Linked DNA regions of Homo sapiens: all the other regions are linked to region 1. The links are contacts of gene promoters, found by promoter capture Hi-C in blood cells and fetal thymus (Javierre and others, 2016). All regions are on one chromosome and are shown on one strand. Each heading gives the region's core, a stretch centred on a gene start or on the middle of the fragment in contact. The rest is flanking DNA. Distances are from core to core; before and after follow the strand shown.

The links. Contacts are between HindIII fragments. The CHiCAGO score rates a contact against its expected background, and 5 or more counts as called.
Region 2: a fragment that was not itself captured here is called in contact with the fragment with the promoter of ADAMTSL3 in region 1 in 1 of 17 cell types (neutrophils); the score reaches 5.1 in neutrophils.
Region 3: a fragment that was not itself captured here is called in contact with the fragment with the promoter of ADAMTSL3 in region 1 in 1 of 17 cell types (neutrophils); the score reaches 5.3 in neutrophils.

What each region holds. Positions count from the first base shown.
Region 1 is chr15:83,652,712-83,655,411 of GRCh38, reverse strand. It overlaps ADAMTSL3 (ADAMTS like 3), which reads right to left and starts at 1,289. Exons shown (of 30, transcript NM_207517.3): 1 at 1,136-1,289. RefSeq lists an enhancer at 2,651-2,700. The HindIII fragment of the contact is 5,383 bases long and covers 1-2,700 here.
Region 2 is chr15:83,588,026-83,590,725 of GRCh38, reverse strand. It overlaps SH3GL3 (SH3 domain containing GRB2 like 3, endophilin A3), which reads right to left. Exons shown (of 9, transcript NM_003027.5): 8 at 1,955-2,064. Among named protein-coding and RNA genes, the nearest start is that of ADAMTSL3, 65 kb to the left of the region's middle. The HindIII fragment of the contact is 1,666 bases long and covers 446-2,111 here.
Region 3 is chr15:83,569,678-83,572,377 of GRCh38, reverse strand. The region is part of intron 4 of SH3GL3 (SH3 domain containing GRB2 like 3, endophilin A3); the gene reads right to left. Among named protein-coding and RNA genes, the nearest start is that of ADAMTSL3, 83 kb to the left of the region's middle. The HindIII fragment of the contact is 2,297 bases long and covers 150-2,446 here.

The sequences.
Region 1 (2,700 bases), core at 40-2,539:
GAAGCCAGCACAGAGCCAAGGTTTAGGCTAGCTTCTGCTGCTCGCGGCAAAAATGAGTCTAAGACAACAAAGCCGCCCAGAGAGGGAAAGGACCTGCCTAAGGTCACACAGCAAGATAGTGACATTTTAGGGCTGAAACGCAGATCTTCTGATAGTTCAAGGCTTTCCTCGCTAGATGACACCGTGCGCCCTCGAGGTCCGGGACCCACACCCAGAGAGACGCCTGAGAGCTAAGTTCAGGGAGGTTTGGAGGACACAGCCCCTGAGCCAGCCTAACACAATCTCCTAAAAGTAGGTGAGGGCCAGCCAGCAGAGGTCAGCTGAAACCAGGAGGGAAGCGGGGACTTTTTCCCTTACTTTTCCTGTCAATTTACAGGGAAATCAGTATGAGTCGAGACTGGAAAAGCCGAGGTCACACTCGACTCCCGCTTCGCCTCGCGGGCGCCTTGGCGGAGCTGGTGTCCGGGGGCGGGTCGGTGGCTTCTCTCCATCTGGAGAAGGCATTAAGGGCCTGGTCTAATGTGATCCGCAAATGTGCTGCTGTTTCCGACCTGAGGCGGCGACTCCTGGCTGAAGGGAGGCGGCCAGTGCGGGGCCCTGGGACTCTGCGCCACCCTCGCCTGCTCGCACCAGCCTTCCGAGTGCACACTCCTCCGACTACCCGCTGCCTCGAAGTCGCTCCTCCAGTGCCTCCGCCGCGTCCCGGTCACCCCCACGCCCACTTTCCACGATCGCGCGTCGCCTCAACCCCCGGCGTTCTGGGCGCTCGCTACCCAGTGGTCAACCGGCCGGACCTTCGGACCCGCGAGGTTTCTGCTTAGTAACTCCCAATCCTGAAAAACTCCAACCCTGTGGAGTTCCCCCATAATCAAGAACGCCCCTCAGCCCGCGAACTGCCGCCGAAAGACTCTCCCTGAACCTTCCGGGACGGCACGAAGCGCGCCCGACCCGAGGTGCCCAGCAGTGAGGAGCACCCCAGTCCTGAGGCCCCCTGGGGCCCGCGTGGCACGCCCCGACTCTGCTTGGAGACCCCCAACTTGCTTAGAGAGGCCACTGCTCCAAGTCTTACTCCCTCTGGGGAGCGCCTTCCCCCGACCCCTGAGGGGCCGCCCTGCGCCGAGCTCGGTGCACCCACCTTGCGCCGCAGAAGTATCTGGGACGTGCAGCCCCGGGGCCGCGCGGGCTCGGCGCGCGCTGGGGAGAAGTTGGCAGAAGCCGCCCGTCAACACCTCGTGCGGAATCCGGCACCAGGACCTTCCCCGACGCCGGCCTCCAGCCCGCGGCGCCGCAGTCGCCGCCGCCGCCGCGAAGTTAAATGGGGCTGGGACGGGGGCTGCCCCGCCTCTCCCGCCCCCTCCGGGCGCGCAGAGCGCTGCGCTGGCCCCGGCCCAGAGGCGGAGGGCGCGCGCCGCCACCTGCACCGCCCGGCAAGTGCACGGCGCGCCCAGGCGCCCGTCAGCCTGCGCGCCGGCACCGCGCCCTCGGCTTGAGCTGGAGGCGCCGGGGGCGCGAAGAGACGCCGTGTGGGGCCAGGCCCGGGCCGCTCGGAGCGCGCGGGGCCGCGGCGACGGCGGGACTCGGCTGGAACGCTCCTCCGCCCGCTTCCTGGAAGCCACTCCTCGCCCTGGGCCGGCCGCCAGGCGTTGTGCCAAGAGCCGGGATTGCCGACGCCGCCACCGCCGCCGCCGGCAGGCGCACTGGGGAAAGGCGGCCGCTGCGCCGCAAGCCAGCCTGGCCGCCCCGCCTCAGCCGGAGCCGGAGCAGGGATGCCGTCGCTCCCCCCGAGCCCACCCCCGGCCCCACCTCCCATAGCCTCCACCCACCCCGCCCAGACCCGGGCGCCAGCTCTGCAAAGTCAGGCCCAGCAGCCACACAGAGGTTTGCCCGGAACCGCTGGCTCGTGCCTAAGAGCCATAGGCACTCCTGGCCAGGCAGGACCATAGTGGAGACCAATGGCCCTCTCCTGGCCTGCGCCTCCTCCGCGCAGCATAGACGCCACACAAGGGACTGTGGAGCGCTCACTGCCCAGAGGCCTGGGACCTTTGGCAGCCAGGGACCACGAGGATCTTGCAGGAGCGCCTCTTAACTGGGTACCTGGCGCCTCCTTGTCTGAGCCGGGCTTGGGGAACTGAGAGCTCCACAGGTGCCAGAATCATGCCGTGTCCAGGCCTGGGATTTGGGGTTGGGGGGAAGAGTGTCGCGGACAAGAGACTGGGGTGAGTTGCCTGTGTACTTCTGGAGGTGAGGAGAAGTAAAAGGAAATGTTTGTCCCTGTCCTTGTCCTAGTCCCAGCAGGATAAGCCAAGGGCCAGGAGATTGATCTTAAAGGCTGCATTATGCCCCCACCTAAGTCCTACCACAGTCGCCATTTCCTTGGGTGTCTGTCGAGTACCAAGCTCTTTGTGTCTATCTGATCTTCACAGCAGCAGTAGTTCGAGCATTATCCCATTTCACCTAGGATAAATCTGAGGCTGGGAGGATAACTTGCCCACCATGAGTGGAGAAGCCAGGACTGGAACCCCTATCTGCCTCTCTCTAGAGCCTGGACTGTTCACCCCTAAAGTTGTTCTCCTGCCTTCTCTGTGGTTGCTGCGTTCCGGTTACTGCTAGAGCTTTGCCAAGAGCAATTGGCCCTGCCTGCTTTCCTCACTCATTCTTCCCTTACTTACTCTGGTGACTTCCTCTGACCAAGAAGAGGAT
Region 2 (2,700 bases), core at 29-2,528, 65 kb after region 1:
TCACCAAAGAGGATACACAGATGGCAAATAAACACATGAAAAGATATTCAACATCATTAGTCACTAAGGAAATGCAAATTAAACCCACAGTAAGATTAATTACACACCTATCAAAGTGGCTAAAATAAAAAACAGTGACAACAGCAAATGCTGGCAGGGATGTGGAGAAACTAGATCACTAATATATTGCTGGTGGGGATGTGAAATGGTAGCACAACTCTGAAAGATAGTTTGGGAATTTCTTTTCATTTAGAAAAATAAATCCTTATGATAAAGATCTAAATATTAAGAAAAGATTATTCAAAGTAGTAGAAAACTGTAGAAGAATAACTTCAGGGATAGGAAGACTTTTCACAACAGGGCACAAAATGTAATCATGACAGGGCACAAAATGTAAAGTCACAAGCAAAAGACAGACACATTTGACTACATCAAAATAAAAGCTTCTGTATACTCAAAGCAAAACTAAACAAAGCAAACAACAGCAAAAACAACAAAGGGACAAGGCACTCCAAAAACAAAGTTTAAAGATAAATGACAAACTAGGAAAAAAATTATTAATATCCTCATATGGAAAGAGCTCCTATAAAACAATAAGACAAAGCAAACTACTCCCAAAAAACACAAATAAATGACATAAACAGACAATTCAGACATAAGGAAATACAAATTAAAATATAGAAAAGAAAGTTCACCCTCACTAATAATCATGAAAATGCAAATTAAGACTGGATACCATTTTTTTCTCATGAGTGCTTGGCAGAAATGGAAGTCTACTGGCATGGGTGTGGGGAAGCAGGTGTTCATGCTTTAATAGTAATGTAGCCAGCACAGTGATAAAGGATACTCACTGTAGCAAATAACTGGAAAAAACCTTAACGTCCACCAATAGGGAAATGGTATAATAGAAAACTATGAAGCTGTTAAAACAGTGGGATAGATCTATATGCATGATATGGAAATAACTCGAAGAAACAGTGATACATTTTAAAAAGCAAACTGCCAAACAATATGCCTAGTATAATCTCGCATTTAAAAAACAGAAAAAAGGCTGGGTACAGTGGCTCATGCCTATAATCCCAGCACTTCAGAAGGCCGAGGCAGAAGGATTGCTTGAGCCCAGGAGTTGCAGGCCAGCCTGGGCAACAAAGTAAGACCTTGTCTCTACAAAAAATAAAAAAATTTGCCTGGCAGGGTCACATACACCTGTAGTTCCAGCTACATGGAAGGCTGAGGCAGGAGGATTGCTTGAGCCCAGGAGGTCAAGGCTGCACCGAGCCATGTTCATGCCATTGCACTACAGCCTGGGTGACAGAGCAAGACTTTGTCTCAAAAAAGAAAAAAAGAAAAAACAGAAAAAAATCCAAAACGCTGTTTATGTGTATATTTATGTACCTCAATAGATATGATAATAGTTATACCAAATTTTTTTAACAGTGGCTACATCTAGGAAGCGAACTGCGATGGTGTAGGTGATCACAAGAGACTATAGAATGACTTATACCATTAAATTTTTTTTTCTGTTTGATTATTTTACCAATTTTTTTCTGTTTGATTATTTTACTAAAAGACACATTTGCATCACTTGTTTAATAAAAAATAACGATGCAGCACTTAAGATAGTATCTAGCATATAGCAGTTGCTCAAAAATGCTAATTTCAACTTAAAAATAAATTAAGAAAATATTTTCAAAGAGTTAAAAAAATAAAGGATGATGTAGCCATAATGGTTCTATGGCCAAGGTTCTAAATGCTACATTATATAAGTGATAGAATTCTTCCCCAGGGAACAGAAAAAAGGGGCACGTTTAGGGGAAAAGGGAATTTACCAAACAACCAAAGAAAGATATCCAGGGTCTGTGTGTATTCACTGACCCAGAAACAAGCAGTAAATAAGTGTTTCTAGAAGTGCTTTACTAAAGGCACACTTAGCATATTAGAATGGTCAACTTACCTGTCGTCTTCACTACAGAGGTGGTGGAAACTCCATTGAGCTCACTAGAACTCCTTTTCACAGGCCTTGGCTTGTATTCTCGTCTGGGGACACTGGATGCAGCTGATATTCTGTAACACACATCGTAAGATGAGCCAGACATCTGATGTTGAAAGCTTTCCAAACACACATCCTCTCTGCCTTGTTGAGCACAGGAACTTAGGTTACAGCCAGTGGTCATGAAAGGGACGATTTTTACACACTGACTCTTGAGTAGCCCGAAGTGATGGAGGTGATATCACAAATGCAGTTTTTCAACTCCCTATTTGAGCTTGTGAGTGAAATTCATCTTGAAGAAGACTAATTGGGCCAGCCATGGTGGCTCATGCCTGTAATCCCAGCACTTTGGGAGGCCAAGGTGCTCACCTGAGGTCAGGAGTTCGAGATCAGCCTGGCCAACATGGTGAAACCCCATCTCTACGAAAAATACAAAAATTAGCCAGGCATGGTGGTGGGCGCCTGTAATCCCAGCTACTCGGGAGGCTTAGGCAGGAGAATCTCTTGAAACTGGAAGGTGGAGGCTGCAGTGAGCAGAGGTTACGGTGAGCCAAGATGGCGCCACTGCACTCCAGCCTGGGCAACAGAGCACGACTCCATCTCAAAACAAAACAAAACAAAACAAAAGACTAATTTTCTTCATCAAGTCTCTGAGGCATCCAGCAAGTGCCTGGGACGCGGTCGGCACCCAGTGATGGGAGCTGCCTTCT
Region 3 (2,700 bases), core at 49-2,548, 83 kb after region 1:
CTCTATGGTCTGCACTTTCACCACTACAGAAAATACAACTGAGGCTAGCAGACCGAAGTACTTACCATTTGGACCACTAGATGGGGATAAAGATCCTTTCTAAAAAACTGGTAATTTGGGAAACTGGCACGGAGGGTTCCTTAGAAGCTTGAGAATAAAATCTCTTTGTAAACAATGAAAGGATTCACTCATGGGGCTAAGTGTTAACCAGTAAAAATTACAATAGAAATAAACCAACAAAACATCTCAGCTTCTAGCCGTGGGATCTTCTCAAGGCTACTCCCCGTATCCTTCTAGAAGGTTCTAAGCCTCCCTGCCCTCTCTGATGTCAAAGAAAGCCTGCCAGTGTCACATGGGACATCCTGTCAGCAGGGTGGGGTGGGGGTCTGCTGGTGCGTTGGAGCCCAGGCCAGCCTTCCTGGCTCGGGTAGTGGCAGGTAGTTTTTCCTGGATTACAGTGTGCTATCTCAGTCCGGTTAATCGGCAGTAATTTGCCAGATTACTGCAAACCAGGTGCCCTCTAGTTCTCTGTACAATGAGGGTTGCAGGGTCTCTAGAAAACATCCCTGGGAAATGCTGCACTAGAATGAACTATTTTTCCTATATTTGGGTTTTTCCAAATTGATCTTGTAAAAAGATGGAGATTGGGTTGCTCCATTTCTAGGCTTGAAGAAGACCGTAAAGCCCAGCCTAAGTCTGACCTTTGAGTTGTTTCACCCACCAGGTGAGGGCATGGACAACTTAATTACCTGTAAAATAGAGATGGCAACATGTGCCTCACCTCCCTTAAAAAAAAAACAGAAAGATACTAAAGAGGACCTTGCAAAACAGAAGTAGGAACCGTTACTCTAAACTAAGGCTTCCCAGGACTCCATACGGACCCAGTGGTAGCTTCATTCCTCCTTGGAAGCTACATTTCCTTAGCTCAACTCTCCAAAGTGTGTCTAAATAATTCCTAAATGAAGACGAAATGTCCCTTCCTAGCCTGTGGACTCTTTCCTGCCCAAATGGTGAGAAATGGTATTGCCTGACCCCCTACACAGCCCCTCTGCCACCAGTGCCAGTGTCTCACAATGTCAGCTCATTTCGCCTTGACAGAAACATTTTCAAATACACTGTAGACTCCAAAGATGATGCTCTGAACATGGGCCGCCACCTCCCTGGAATCAACATTCCCTCTCCTTGCCTGAGACTGGCGCTGTCGAATTCCACGGGTGTGGGGCTCAGCCTCCACCCACTGAGGTTTCTGTACTGTAGGAGGTCCCAGTATGTGGCCCCCCAAAAGAAAACATCCAACGGCACAGCCTCTTCCTTGGAAGAGCAGAAATCCATCTGTTCCTGATGCCCTGCTGACATCAGCTCTCTTCCTCATCCCAAGTTTTTTTCGGTTGCCGAGCACCTGGGAAGCTACCAAATTGTCTGGCTGTCGCCAAGGCCAGATGCACGGCAGGAGTGTCCTTGGATTTCAAGGCCTGCCTGGCAGTTTCACCTGCTCCCTTCACTGATGTGCCTTCAGAGTAAGAAATAGGCCATCTTGTCCCCATTGGCCCTTAGAATAAAATAAAATTCACATTATACTGCTCTGAGGGATAATATTACCCTTTGTCACTAATTAATTCGTGTTTTAATGCTTGAGTTTTAACATTTTTTTCAAAAGATATTTCCTCCAATTTCCTAGAATGATTACTGTGGCCAAATATTTGATTTCTCAACTTCCATCTCTTCCATCTCCTGCCTTGTTACCACTATATGAATAGCAAATATGCCAAATTCTTTGGGAATACTTAATATATTAAATCCAATTCATCCTCAATTTAATGTATTAATTTAAATGAATCTCAATCAAAATTTAATGACTTTTTTAAATAAAAGGGACTTAAGTTTCACCTGGAAAAATAAAACCAGTAAGTGTGTCTGTGAACTTTTTGCAATACAATACCTAAATTTTTAGTAAATAATATATTAAAGTATGTTTTAAAACTTCAATACTTAAAACAATATGACACTGAATCAAAACAGGATACAGATCAAGAAACGGAAGAGAAAGACCATAAACAAATTTAATGTATAATAATTTAGCCTATAATAAAAGAATCATTTCAAATCATCAGGAGAAAGTTGGACTTTTCAACAGTACTGAAACAAGCTATTTATTTGTTAGAAAACAAAATTAGAACCCTATTGCACTGTAGCTCCAATAAATGCAGGAGCTTGGAAATTTAAAGGCAATAAAAGAAAATACAGGATTCAAAAACAAGTATAAATAAACGTTTATATCATTTGCCAGGGAGTGGGATGAAAAAGATTTTCTAAACATGATTCCAAAAAGCTAGAAACCATATAGGAAGACTAAAGAGCTTCAGTAAATAAAAAATAAAAATCTCTCTCCATTGAAATGACCTTCATATACAAGGTCTGAAGGCAAATGCTTACCTGGGACAAAGCTTCATCAACATACAAGACAGCCAATGAGCAAATATCCTGACCATTTAAAGAGCTCATGAGACAGGGGGGAAAAAATGGACCTCCTGATGCAAAAGCAGGCTAAGGACACAAACACACAATTCACAAAAACAATGACAAACACAAATAAAAATTCCACCTCACACGTGATCCAAAAGATGGAGTTAAAACAGCAATGAGATATCATTTTTGTATACTACATATCAAATGATCAGTTATTTAAAAGTAAACTAAAAA